Regions from separate parts of the Homo sapiens genome. Here region 1 is linked to region 2. Evidence: promoter capture Hi-C in 16 types of primary human blood cells and fetal thymus (Javierre and others, 2016). All regions are on one chromosome and are shown on one strand. The core of a region is centred on a gene start or on the middle of the fragment in contact, and the rest is flanking DNA. Distances in the headings are between cores, read along the strand shown. Region 1 overlaps KCNQ1 (potassium voltage-gated channel subfamily Q member 1). Region 2 holds the start of KCNQ1-AS1 (KCNQ1 antisense RNA 1).

What was found. The method cuts DNA at HindIII sites, captures the fragments that hold promoters and counts their contacts. A CHiCAGO score of 5 or more calls a contact.
Region 1: a fragment that was not itself captured here is called in contact with the fragment with the promoter of KCNQ1-AS1 in region 2 in 8 of 17 cell types (neutrophils, naive CD4 T cells, erythroblasts and 5 more); the score reaches 8.2 in neutrophils.

Annotation. Positions count from the first base shown.
Region 1 is chr11:2,521,872-2,527,172 of GRCh38, forward strand. The region is part of intron 1 of KCNQ1 (potassium voltage-gated channel subfamily Q member 1); the gene reads left to right. Among named protein-coding and RNA genes, the nearest start is that of KCNQ1, 80 kb to the left of the region's middle. The HindIII fragment of the contact is 1,173 bases long and covers 738-1,910 here.
Region 2 is chr11:2,860,290-2,867,291 of GRCh38, forward strand. It overlaps KCNQ1-AS1 (KCNQ1 antisense RNA 1), which reads right to left and starts at 1,280. Exons shown (of 3, transcript NR_130721.1): 1 at 701-1,280. RefSeq lists an enhancer at 2,670-3,367 and a cis regulatory region at 6,867-7,002. The HindIII fragment of the contact is 10,846 bases long and covers 1-7,002 here.

The DNA.
Region 1 (5,301 bases), core at 74-2,573, 340 kb before region 2:
AGTGTGTGCGGCAGGGCAGGTCATGGAGTCTCCAGCCTTCAGCTCGCGTTAGCCCCAGGCCATCTGAGCCGTGGAGCCCACCCAGGCCCGCTGCCTGCACCCCGGGGGAGCCCTCCCACAGCGTCTCGGGCTATGACCCTGGCAGGGTTCCTGCATTCTCCTGTGTTCCCGGGCACCCGGGGCTGAGATGTTGAAATGATGTCGGATAATTCACCGGGTGCCTTCGGGGCTGGTACTCGCCGTCACTGCTCCTGAGGCCTATTTGCTGTCAAGGGGAACAAGTAGGAGGTTGTTTTCTGGGGTGCGGTGGGCTCCCCGCTCATGCAGCTCCCCGCCCCCCGCATGACCACGCCCTCTTGGGAGCTCGGGTGGGACAGCATTCAGGGGACCACATGAGCTGGGGGGGGGTCGGTGTCTTCTCTCCCCCACCCCTTCGCTAGCCTGTCCTGCTTCCCACTCCGAGTCCAAAACACGCATAGGATTCGTCCTCTCCCAGGGCCTTAGTTTCCCGGCTCTGCAGAGTGGGGGGCTGTGACTGCCTGGCCTTGGAGCTGAGGCAGAGGGGGTGGTAGGTGGCCCTGCAGAGGCAGGAGGGGACACAGGCACCCCAGGCCCTGAGTGCCTCAAGGGCAGGGACCCCAGCTCGGCACCTGTGAGGTTCCCAGCTCCGCCCGAGACAAGAATAGATAAAGCGGTAAATAAGATAAAACTCTTTTTATCTGGAGTAGATAAAAGTAAGCTTTGTCATATAATTCCTTCTGAGGCTAGCACGGTATATCAAAATATCGGAAGAATCATTTAGCCTTCAGAATATGGCAAGGCTGACAGCCAGCCTGGCCCATGGGCACCTGTCCCCACCATCTGCCTGGCCTGCGGGGGAACGTTCCTCAGCCCCTGCTGGCTCCCAACCCCCGGGCCTGGAGCCCTGTCTTCTGCCTCAGCCGCGATTCCACTGCACGGGACTTTCCCAGGCACCTCTGCCCAGGTAGTTGGGGTGGACGCCCACTTGGGTGCACACTCTGTGGGGGCTGGTCCAGGACCACCCATGTGCAGTCTTCCCTGGCCACATCCTGTATTCTCCCGCAACGCCCAGTCAAGAATCTTCCTGCTGCAGTAACTCCACATATCTGAGCCAGCTGTGTCTCCTGAGCACAGGACATGGGCAGGAGAGGCCCCTGCAGCTGGAATCCGCGCCATGAAGCCCAGGCGCGTGGTATTTGCAGCCAGTCACCAAGTTTTCAAGCCCTCACCTGCGGCCTGTGAGTGCCCACCCTGCACATGGTGCTAACCAGCATCCATCACTGCTTTCTTTTTTAATTTAATTTAATTTTTTTTTTTTTGTGGTGGAGTCTTGCTCTGTCACCCAGGCTGGAGTGCAGTGGCGCGATCTCGGCTCACTGCAACCTCCACCTCCCTGGTTCAAGCAATCCCCCTGCCTCAATCTCCTGAGTGGCTGGGATTACAGGAGCACACCACCACCCACGCCCAGTTAATTTTTTCATATTTTTAGTAGAGACGGGGTTTCACCATGTTGGCCAGACTGGTCTCGAACTCCTGTCCTCAGGCAATCCTCCCGCCTCGGCCTCCCAAAGTGCTGGGATTGCAGGTGTGAGCCGCCGCGCCCGGCCCCACCACTGCTTTCTATGCTGTGGCCGAGGTCACCAACTGCCACTGTGATGGACGGCTGTCACCCAAACAGCACGAGAATCGAAAAGCCGTGATGGCAGATGCAGAAGGCAGCGTCGCCTGTGGTCTTTTAGAAGGGCAGCTGTGAAGTGGGGTTATCTCAGCTTCCACATTGCATCACGGTGCCCCTGTGAAGGGCAGAGGAGCTGCAGGTAATTCTGTTCGCTCGCCTCTGCCTTGGAGGAAGTTTACAGTTTTTTTTTTTTTTTTTTTTGAAAGTTTAAAGCTTTCAACCTGGGCCTGGAGGCTGCAGGGTCAGCAGACCTGGGTCCTGCCCATGGCCCCCTTCCCTCCTCAGGCCTCCATTTGCTCATCTGAGAGTGGGGGGAGTGCAGCGCCTTCCGTGCAGGTCACTGAGAGGCTGGGGCAGTGGCGTGGATTCGGGTGCATGACTCGCAGACATGGCTGTCGCTTGGCTGAACGGTGGCCCCTGAGGTGTCTGTGTCCTTGTCCTGTGAACAAGTTAGGTTGTGTGGCCAAAGGGGCTTTGCAGGGTGACTGAGGGATGGCTCGTGAGAGGGGAGGTTGTCCTGGGTTACCCGGGTGAGCCCTCACTGTGATTGTGAGGATTCTTCTAAGAGAAGCAGGAGGATCTGAGTTGGAGGAAGAGACGGGAGGATGGAAGCCAGGCTCGGCGACGGGAAAGCTGCTGTGCCACCCTCACCGCAGCCCTATCCCTGCTCACGTGCACCAAGACCAGAGCCTGGCAAGTCGTCTCATACCGAGGGTCAAAGGGGCCCAGGGCCCAGCCTCCAGGGACCCCAGCCATGCCGGGTCAGGGAACCAGGCTGCAGTCCTGTGTCTCCTCCTCAGTTTACCCCAATTGTGACCTCAGAAGCCCTTGGAGCCTCAGTTTCCCTACTTGTAGCATGTGTTTGATGATAGTGTGGCAGTGATGTCACAGTCTGGCAGGGTCTCGTGGGGGTCTGTGTTACTGTCTGCAAAGCACTGGCTGGGCCAGTGGTCAGTGAGCAGGGGCGTGGGTAGCGGGCAGTGGCCTGCAGTCCCCAGGAGCACTTCCTGTTGCTGAACAGACAGCAACTTAGTGGATCCTTCCCAGGGCCCCTGGTGGGTGGTGGGTTTTGCCACATCTTTGCAGTAGACAGCACTGGCAGCTTCCGGCTTATCCAAGGCCTCAGGGTGAAGTCGACGCTCGCTGCTGATTCCCTGCTGGACGTCAGGTGACACTTCCCTCCACAGCCTGGGAAGAAGCACCTGTGGGCCACTTCTTTGTGTTGATAAGGAAACTGAGGCAGGGGAGCTGCCTGGGTCACCAGTGGGCACTGCATCTCCATGTGCAGATGGTGCCCTGGCCCTCTCTGCACGCCGTGGGCCTGGGGAGCAGGCAGGTGGCATCTTCTGCCCCGGGCAGCCCGGCTCTGCTTCCTCGTGGCTGAGCCAGGCTGTGTCTAATCTCACTTCCCTGCTCACTGCAAATCAAAACAAACAGACGTCCAGGAGGATTAAGTGTGGCAGTCATGGCGGAGGGAGCCCTGGTAGGGTGGAGAGAGCCAACAGTTGCACCAGCAAGGGGCAGAGACCCAGCCCAGCCCTGGGGGCTGCAGGGTGTGGGGACAGGGCCTGCAGCTTGGCACAAAGACTCTTCTAAGAACCTGGAGGGAACCCTGCTCCGGCAGTGGGCAGCATGCTGTGTGCAAGGTGAGCCAGTCTGAGCCCATTCCCAGTGCCCGGAATGGTGCCCAGTGCAGATGGGCACTCACCCTTCCAACCAACCTTTGCTTGTGTCCCCGTGAGATCCACAGATTCACCCTACGGAGGGCTCCCCACAGGGTTGGCCCGGAGGCTCCAGCTGTGTCTGTTGAACAAATTACTCTGCATCCACCGCGTGCTAGCGCTGTGCGGATTATAGTCCCAGAGACAGATGAGAGCAGGGGTGGTCAGTGTAGGAGCACCCAGAGGGAGCCTGGCAGGGCCTGGACATCCTGTCCAAGCTGGCCAGGAGGAGTCCTCAGAGCCAAAGCAGTGTGGAGGGTGGGGGTGCAGAGAGCGTCCCTGGCTGGAAGCACCGCGTTTGCAAATGCCAGGCAGCTTATGCAGCCAGCGCTTTGGGCAGGCGGGAGTCAGGGGGACTGAGGCCCAAGGAGGGGTAGGGCTGCATGCCAGCCTTCCAGGTGCTCCTGGGAACCACGTGGCTGATCAGACTTGTGCTTTGGGTCGAATGTCCCAGTGGGGGAGTAACCTCAGGGAGCAGAGGAAGGGTCATGGTGGTGGGGATGAAGCAGCAGCATTGGGGCTTAGAGATTAAATGAAGGAAGTCCCACGGGGCTGATCACCTACTGTGCACCAGGCTGCGTCCCGGGCATGGACTGCAGCCCACAGCCCCACTCTTGGGGTGCTCATGGTCTAGGGGGTGGACAACAGACTCTGGTCCCAGCGATGATGCTTGAGTATAAAGGACACAGTTGGGGTGTTGTGGGGGCCAGGGTCAGACATCAGAGCTGGCCTCTGCCTATGAGACAGGGCCCGCTGGCAGGACCCTCAAGCTGGGCTTTTAGGCTGGGCAGCAGCAGGTGCACGGGCCCTGAGGTGGGCCGGGCTGGGCACAGTCAGGACTGGCAACAAGGGCCGGGAGGAGCTGGGGTGATCTGGGGCCATCGTGGTGTAAATACTGGGGCACGACATGGAGGGTTCACTGACTGGCTGGGTGTGTGGGCTGGGGGCGCCGAGGGTGGAGGTGGGCACTGTGGTCAGGGGGAGATGAGGATGGATGGGCAGGGTGCAGACAGGGGCTGGCTGGGTTCGGCTCTGCAGGTAGAGCTGACCGGTGTGGCAGGGACAGGGTGTCGGTGAGGCAGGTGGCTGAGGAAATGGTAGCTGCAGGTTTTGGCCCCAGTCCCAGCAGCGGGACTATGGCTGTGGGGAGGGAGGAACCCAGGGAGGGGGCCTGAGCAGGGTCTTTGGCTGAGTGAGCCCTCAAGGGCCTTTGGGTAGGGCTACCAGAGGCCAGGAAAGGATTGTCCTGTCCACAGGAGCTTGGGGAAGGGGGTGGGGGGCCAGAGCCCCACCTTCCCCAGAAACCTCCGTGCAGCAGGAGGATGAGCCGAGGCAGGCTGTGCTGGGAGGTAGCCTGTTTGTTGTGGGCTCTGGGGGCCTGGGGAGGGTGGGCTGGGCTGTCCACATCTGGACAGGTGGAAGAGGATGGGTTCTGGGTGGGGCTGACTTCAGGAGGCTGGATGAGAGGCAATGCAGGGGGCCTTCTGGCTGTCCTGGGGTGGGTTAGAAGCCACTCAGGATGGCAGGATCTCAGGGAGCGGAGGGAGCCTGGGGCACCCTATGCCAGGCAGAGGATCTATGCCGGGGCCCCCAGGGTCTGTGTGTGGCTTTCTCTGTTTGTGTCTCCCCTGGCCCTGGGGGCCATGTGGCCATCTCCTGGCTCTCCGGTCGCTGAGGATCCACGGGGGTCCCTGGAGTCTCCGGAGCCCGTGGGAATCCCCCTAGAGGCGGGAGGAAGGCCGGGCGGGCCCTGGAGGGTACGTTTGCAGTGGCAGCAGCTCCCTATCTTTATGGTTCCGGCGATCAGAGAAGGCGGCCCGTCTTTTCTCTGCGGGCCCACAGGCCCAGAACGTTGGCCCCAGGGTGGGGCTCTGTGCGCCT
Region 2 (7,002 bases), core at 30-2,529:
GGTTCCACCCCATCTATGCACCCTCTCCCTGGGTTCATGCCTGCTCCCCTGGGCCCACCCCACCCATGCGCCTACTCCCCCCACAGCCCACCCATCCCCAGAACCCTCCTTGCCCACATGCCACAGCAGTATACTTTTGAAGGCAACACTGAAGGTGGGGAGTTTCTGAAATCCTCTGTGCTTCCATCTCCTCTATGGGCGCACCCCAAGAGGTTGGGAGAGCGAGGTGCTGGTGCCCAGCCCAGCACAGATAGATGAGGCCACCGTCCAGTCTACTTCGTTTTTCCAGACATCTCACACCCATAACTGGCCTGAGGAACCTCATTCCAGCTTCCAAAGAACACGGAGTGCCAAGCACCACCACACCCCAGGCTCCACACCTCCCAGAACCCTTGTGGTAGGGGAAGGAGGGGGTTACTCTGCCCCATTTACCTAAGGGAAACTGTAAGGCCTGGATGGAGAAGTGCCCCCCCTCCAGCTCACACGGCTACCAGGCCAGAGACCTTTGCCCCACCACACATGTTGGCCCACAGATGAGGCGGTGAGTCATTCAGCCACATCACAGACGGGAGATCCCCTGCCCCTTGGGAGGAGCTGGAGTCCCCACACCTGGGATCCAGTGCCAGGCTTTAGCACGGACCCCTGTGTGCCCACACCCACCCTGTCTGAACCCCCCATTAAGGGACTCGTGTTTACACACCGGTCCCTGAGTCCCCGATTTCTGAGAAAATTAATTGGCAGGGTAATTCTCACTAGAGTGTTGTTGACTTCTCCATTTGTAGCTTGCTCTTTCTGACAGTATCTGCACTGCAGAGGGAGAACCTGAAGAAGACCTCACCTGAGCTCCGAGGTGTGGATTTCTGGGCAGATTTGAGACTTTGTGGCCCCTGCTAAGGGGATATAATTGAGGGTCCCCATAAATCATGACTCGGTCTATGAGGAACCAGCACCTAGCTGCATCCCCAGCCTCTTCCTTCTTCACACCCAAGCAAAACCCCAGGTTCCAGCCCCACCTAGCAGACTGAGGGCAGGCCATGGTCCCCCCTGCTCCATTCCAGACTCCACTCTGGCTTTTCTCCTTCAGGAAACCTCCTCATAACCCTCAGGCTGGGTCCGGGGCCCAGGCCCTACAGATGTGCTGGGTGCTGGTGCTGACAGACAGGACGGCAACCGTAGCTGGACCTCACCCTGGACAGCATCGCCACAACCCCCACTGGTCCACCTGGGAGAACAGAGACCCAGAGATAGCCACACACTGTCCTCTGTGCCCCTCATTGCCCCCCAGGCCTTTGGAGGTTCTGGGGGTGGCTACTGCAGTTTAATTTGGGCCACAACCCCTAATGAGCAGCCCAACGGCATGGGGGGCAGTTTGTAGGCACCCAGAGCCTGAGCAATGTGGCAGAAAGTCCAGGGGGCCTTCCAGGGGCCTCCAAGTGACCCAGGTATCTGGCAGAGCCCAGCTGGCCCCAGGGCTCCCAGTCCCGGCCTCCTGCTCCCCGGCCCATTGGCCCTGGCTGCAGCCTCAGTTGTACCAGCTGGGGAGTCCCAGATTTCCTGTACCACCACCCCACACACTTGGTCCCCTAAAGACCTGATACTGAGCTCTTGCTAATCATCTGGCTGTCACTAAGCTGCCCCACAACCATTTTCAAAGAGTCCCTGATTTTTAAGGCCCATAAAACACTGTGAAATGGCCTTTTTCAAACATTGAGGGCATTAATGACCATGGCAAAAACAAAAACCTGTCCAGGTGGCCAGTTTTTAGTAGCTCCCAATACAAAATTGCCCCCACCACGCAGCCCCCACCTGTCCACGCCCCCTCCACTTACCCACCCCGAGGGATTCTAGCCAGGACCCCTGCGTCCTGAGAAATCCTTTCCAGGAGTAGGCTGGGGAATACCGGCCCAGAGGGGCGAGGACCGGATGGGGGCAGGGGTAGGGTTCAAGGGGCCAGGGTCCCAGGGGCTCTCCTGGAGGCTGCAGAGGAACCCAGCCTGGGTGGGGGGCTCCGACGCTCCACAGCCTGTCCTGGCCCGGCCAGGCCCGGCCCGGCCCGGCCCCCTGCCCAGTCGCGGCACTGCCCGGCCCGACCCCCAGACCTTCGGGGTGCCCAGTCCGAGCCTGGGCCGCTAGGGGCCGCGGGCCTGGCGGGCGGGGCGGGGGCCGGGGTCGGGGGTCCGGCGAGCTTTAATGCGCGCACAAAGCCTCATTTGCAGGTCAATGCCGCGGCACACTCGCCTCTCCCCTCGCCCGGCGCCCTTTGTCCGGCCGCGCCCGCTCCTCGCGCCAGATGGCCGCGGAAATGCTAATTTCGGGCGCCCCTGCCCCCCCACCCCCGCGTTTAATTGCGCCTTTGCAGATGGGCCGCGAGTGTGCGCTTCATGCAGATGAGCGCGGCCTCGCCGCCTTCCTCGGACCTCCGGGAGCCGCGGCCGGGCGTGCTGGGGCCGAGGGCAGGGAGGGGGCCGCTGTCCCTCCACTCGACGCGCCGCCGGGCACGGGCGGGCACCCAGCGGCCCGGGCCCGGGAAGCGCGCTTCTCTCTTTTCATTTCTCCAAAATGGGATCTTAAGTGATTCTGAATGAAAACAAATTGGCCCGCTTTCTTCTCCAAACAGACGCGCGGCGCGGTGGGGGCGGCGGGCGCGGGCCCGGGGCGGCCCGGGCGGTGGGGTTGGCTCCGGGACCCCCTGCCCGGCCCGGCCCTCGCGCCTTCTCCCCGCGGCCCGCCTTCCTCAGCCCTGGGCCGGCGGCACTTGGAGGCGGCCGGGCAAGACGGCAGACGTGGGGGCCCCTTTAACCGGAGCCAAGGATCCCCGGACTTTCTGACCAACCAGGAGCAGAAGCCCGCCAGGTCACCCTCGCCTTTCATGACAGAAACAGATTCCCAGGCTGGTCGGAGCGCAGAAATGAGGCAGGCCAGGGCCGGCCTCCGCCACCCCGCCCATCTCCAGCCCCAGCAGGAGCCTGGCCCAGGCCTCTGGCCCCACAGCGCCAGGGAGCATCCTCCGGGAGCCCAGGCCTGCCTCGAAGCCTAGGGCTGGGGCAGGCTGGGCAGAGTGAGGGAGGGAGGCAGTTTCTTTGTGATGTGTCCACTTTACTAGCAAAATTTCAACCACAAACTTAGAAAACCTATACATTGGTGGGTGATTCACTTGCTCCACCACCAGCGATGAAACAGAGACAGAGCCACGTTCTGGGTAAGTAAGAATACTCCCAATACAAAACTCAGCCACAGACCTTTAAAAAGAAAAGGGTGCCGGGCGCGGTGGCTCACGCCCGTAATCCCAACACTCTGGGAGGCCGAGGCGGGAGGACTGCTTGAGCGCAGGAGTTCCAGTCCAGCCTGCACAACCTGGCGAGGTCGCATCTCTACAAAAAATCTTCTGATTTTTTTAGCCAGGCGTAGCGGCGCGCCTGTAGTCCCAGGAAGGATCACTTGAGCCTGGGAGGTGGAGGCTACATAGAGCCATGACTGTGCCACTATACTCCAGCCCAGGTGACAGAGTAAGACCCTATCTCAAAAAAGAAAGAAAAAAAAGAGAAAGAGAAAGAAAGAGAGAAGAAGGAGGAGGAGGAGGAGGAGGAGGGAGGAGGGAGGAAGAAAGGAAAGAAAGAAGAAAAAGAAAGGAAGAGAAAGAAAGAAAAAGAAGAGATAAAGAAAGAAAAAAGAAAGAGAAAGAAAGAAAGAAAGAAAGAAAGAAAGAAAGAAAGAAAGAAAGAAAGAGAAAGAAAATCATCTGTTCCTGAAACATTCTGTGATACTTTCGTAATTTGCTCAGCCAGAGGACTGAAAGTGCAGGCGGATCCCTCAGCCTTGGGCTCAGCTGGGACTGAAGTCAGCTGACAGAGTGAATCTGGCCCAACTGCCACCAGTCTGACTCTGGCACCCTGGCCCTGGCGTGACCTTCACAGCCGCACCCCCCACCCCCCACCTCCGCCTCAATGCCCACCCTCCAGCTCCACATCACTGAGCCTGCCCTGCTGCGCCCTTGCACGGGCACCCTGGCTGCCAGCTCTCCTCCACCCATTCCTCCTCTGAGTGTCCTCAGGCCCCTCAGGGGCTGCTCTTCCCTGGACACCCAGGAGCCTCAACCTTTGCCCTGTGCCACACCTCCCTCACCTGGCTCTTGAAAGGAGTCCCATCCACCTTCCCCTCAGGGTGAAGCTCAGGGCCTGGCCCACACCCCTGCTGGTACTCAAGGCCCACCTGGGGGACCTAATGGGGGGTTCCAGTAGACACCGAGGCCGAGGCCGGAGGGCTCAGCCACCCTTGTCACCCATCCTGCAGGGCACTGTCTCATGGGTGCCAGCACAGTGACATGCCGTGGGCTGGGGGAAGCTGGCTCATAGAATATGCACGGCCAGGACGCACCGTGGAAATTTCCATGGTCACGGGATGGAAACCATTTCCTATCAATAAAATAACAGGTGCCCCGTCAGAATCCCCCTTTCATTTCTTTCCAGGAAACAGTTCAAATGGGATGGTTACACCCATTTGAGACAAACATCTCTTGGTCCTAACCCCTTGTGGTTGCTTCATTAACCAGAGGCCTCCATCTTCCTCTGGGGAAGACAGTGCAGCCCAGCTGCCCTCCGCCTCCAAACCCTCCCTGGGCCCTGAGGTGCCGTGTGGACCCACTGCTGCAATCGCCATGTTCACCCCACACTCGAGGGTAGACCCAGAGCATTTGAACTGTCCTCGTACTCCCTCGGCCACTTCTCAACAACAGCGCATTCCCAATCCTGTAACCTGGGGCCTTTCCCTAACACATTTAAAAGACGCCAGCCGCCTTCTCCCGCCCTAGCACTGTCACCAGCTGCTTGTACTCAACTCTCTGCCAAACTGTTACTTTGTTTATCACACTCAGATTACGGGTCTCTTGAACAGTTTGTTATGGTTAAATACTTTCAATTAAAACAGTATATGTTTGTGTGTGTGTATACAAATAGATAGACATTCTAATACTTTAAAATAGGTACTTTGAGCTGGGCACAATGGTGCACACCTGTAGTCCCAGCTACTCCAGAGGCAGAGGTGAGAGAATCTCTTGAGCCCAGGAGTTCCAGTCCAGATTGGACAACATAGCAAGACCCTGTCTCTATTAAAAATATACCTTTATGCCAGATGCCTATAATCCCAGCACTTTGAGAGGCCGAGGCAGGAGGATCACTTGAGCCCAAGAATTGGAGACCAGCCTGGACAACATAGGGAGACCCTGTCTCTACAAAAAAAAAAAAAAATTAAAGATTAGCTGGGCATGGTGGCACACACCTATGGTCTCAGCCACTCGGGAGGCTGAGGTGGGTGGAGGGCTTGAGCCCAGGCGTTGGAAGCTGCAGTGAGCCATGATCGTGCCACTGCACTCCAACCTGGGTGACAGAATAAGATCCTATCTCAAAAAATATTTTTTAATTAAAATAAAATATGTGCTTTGGACTTAAAAAGTAAATGTGAGTCCCATAGATGTAAAATGATATAGAGCCCCAAAGTGCCATCTGCGCTTATCTCAGGATAGCAGCATCTATCTGGGGGAATTTTTACTGTCTTTTTTATACATTCCCATATTGTTTGCATTTTTTTTTTTTACAATGAGCATATGCTGCTATTTCTACAACCAAGGGAAATATATGGCTATTTTCAATTTGGAAATCAAAAGAAATAAAAAGCCCCACTGGCTTGCCAGCCCTGTGACCTGGGTGCTGTAGCAATAATGCCTGGAACTGGCCCCAGCCGATGAGGGACCCCAGCCACAGCCCATGCCAGAGTCCACTGTCAGGACCATCTTACGAGAGGGGCTGCCTCAGAATGGAGTCCTGGGGGCACCTCAGTAACTAAACCCCCTTGGATGGAAGCCAGGCCAGACCCACTCAGTGCCAAATTCCACTCGGGCCTGCTCTCAGTTCCAGCAAAATTCCAAAGTATATTGTTGTTATCGTTATTATTTTGCAATTACGTGACATTTTTTAAATGCCTAGACTGTTTTCTCAGCCATTTTCATTAGCTCCTTCTCACTCTGCCCAAGAGACACTTCAGCATTGTGTCTGCCACTGGGCAGGCTGGCCAAGGCTCAGAGAGGTCAACTAACCTGCCTAGGTTGCACAGCAACAGAGCAGCGGGTGCGAGAGCAGACGTCAGGGCTGGGCCCAGGTCATCCTGCAGAGCTGGGGGGTGGGTCTCGCTGTTGGGCCCTGTTGGGCTTTTATTCAGATTTAGGAATTTCTTGGGGGGCGGGGGCAGGGGCAGATTTGGGAAAGAGAAGAAAAAGTAGGAACGAGAGAAGAGAGAAGAAAAGGCAAGGAAAGCCCAAGGCCGAAGCAAGAGAGCAAAATAAGCAGAAGACACCACGGGTGTGGGGCTGGCAGCACCGCACTGAGAGCCCCTGGCAGGGAACCAGCCCCTGGAGGTGCCCCTGCCTTCTCCCCACAGCCTGGCATGGTGCCGGCTTCCAGAGGAGCCTCGTTTCTCAGTGAGGGGGGCGGGAGGGGGTGAGACAGCATCCGTGTCTAGACGCTTATCCTTTGAGGAGAATACCAGGGTCCCCAAATGCCACTTGAGATCTCTCTGAAATGCAGGAGGCCCTGGAGCCTGCATTTGTCATCAGCCTCAGTCACCACACCTACCCCCAGCTCAGGAGCAGGTGCCACAGCTCAACCTGGCTCTCATGCTGAACCAGGTCCCCAGAGGTCTGGACATTGCCACTCACCAGCAGGCATCCCGGGCCACAGGGCAGGACGCCCAATCTGGAAGCCCAGTGTTATGGGAGGAATCGTATCCCCCAAAAATCATATGTCGAAGCCCTCACCCCCAGCACCTCAGCACATGACTGTATGTGGATACAGGGTTTTACAGAAAACAGTTAAAATGAGGCCATTGGTGTGGGCCTAATCCAACAGGACTGGGGTCTTTATAAGGAGAGGAGGACACAGGCACACTCAGAGGCATGACCCTCCCAGGACACAGGGAGAAGGTGACGTCTGCAAGCCAAGGAGAGAGGCCTCA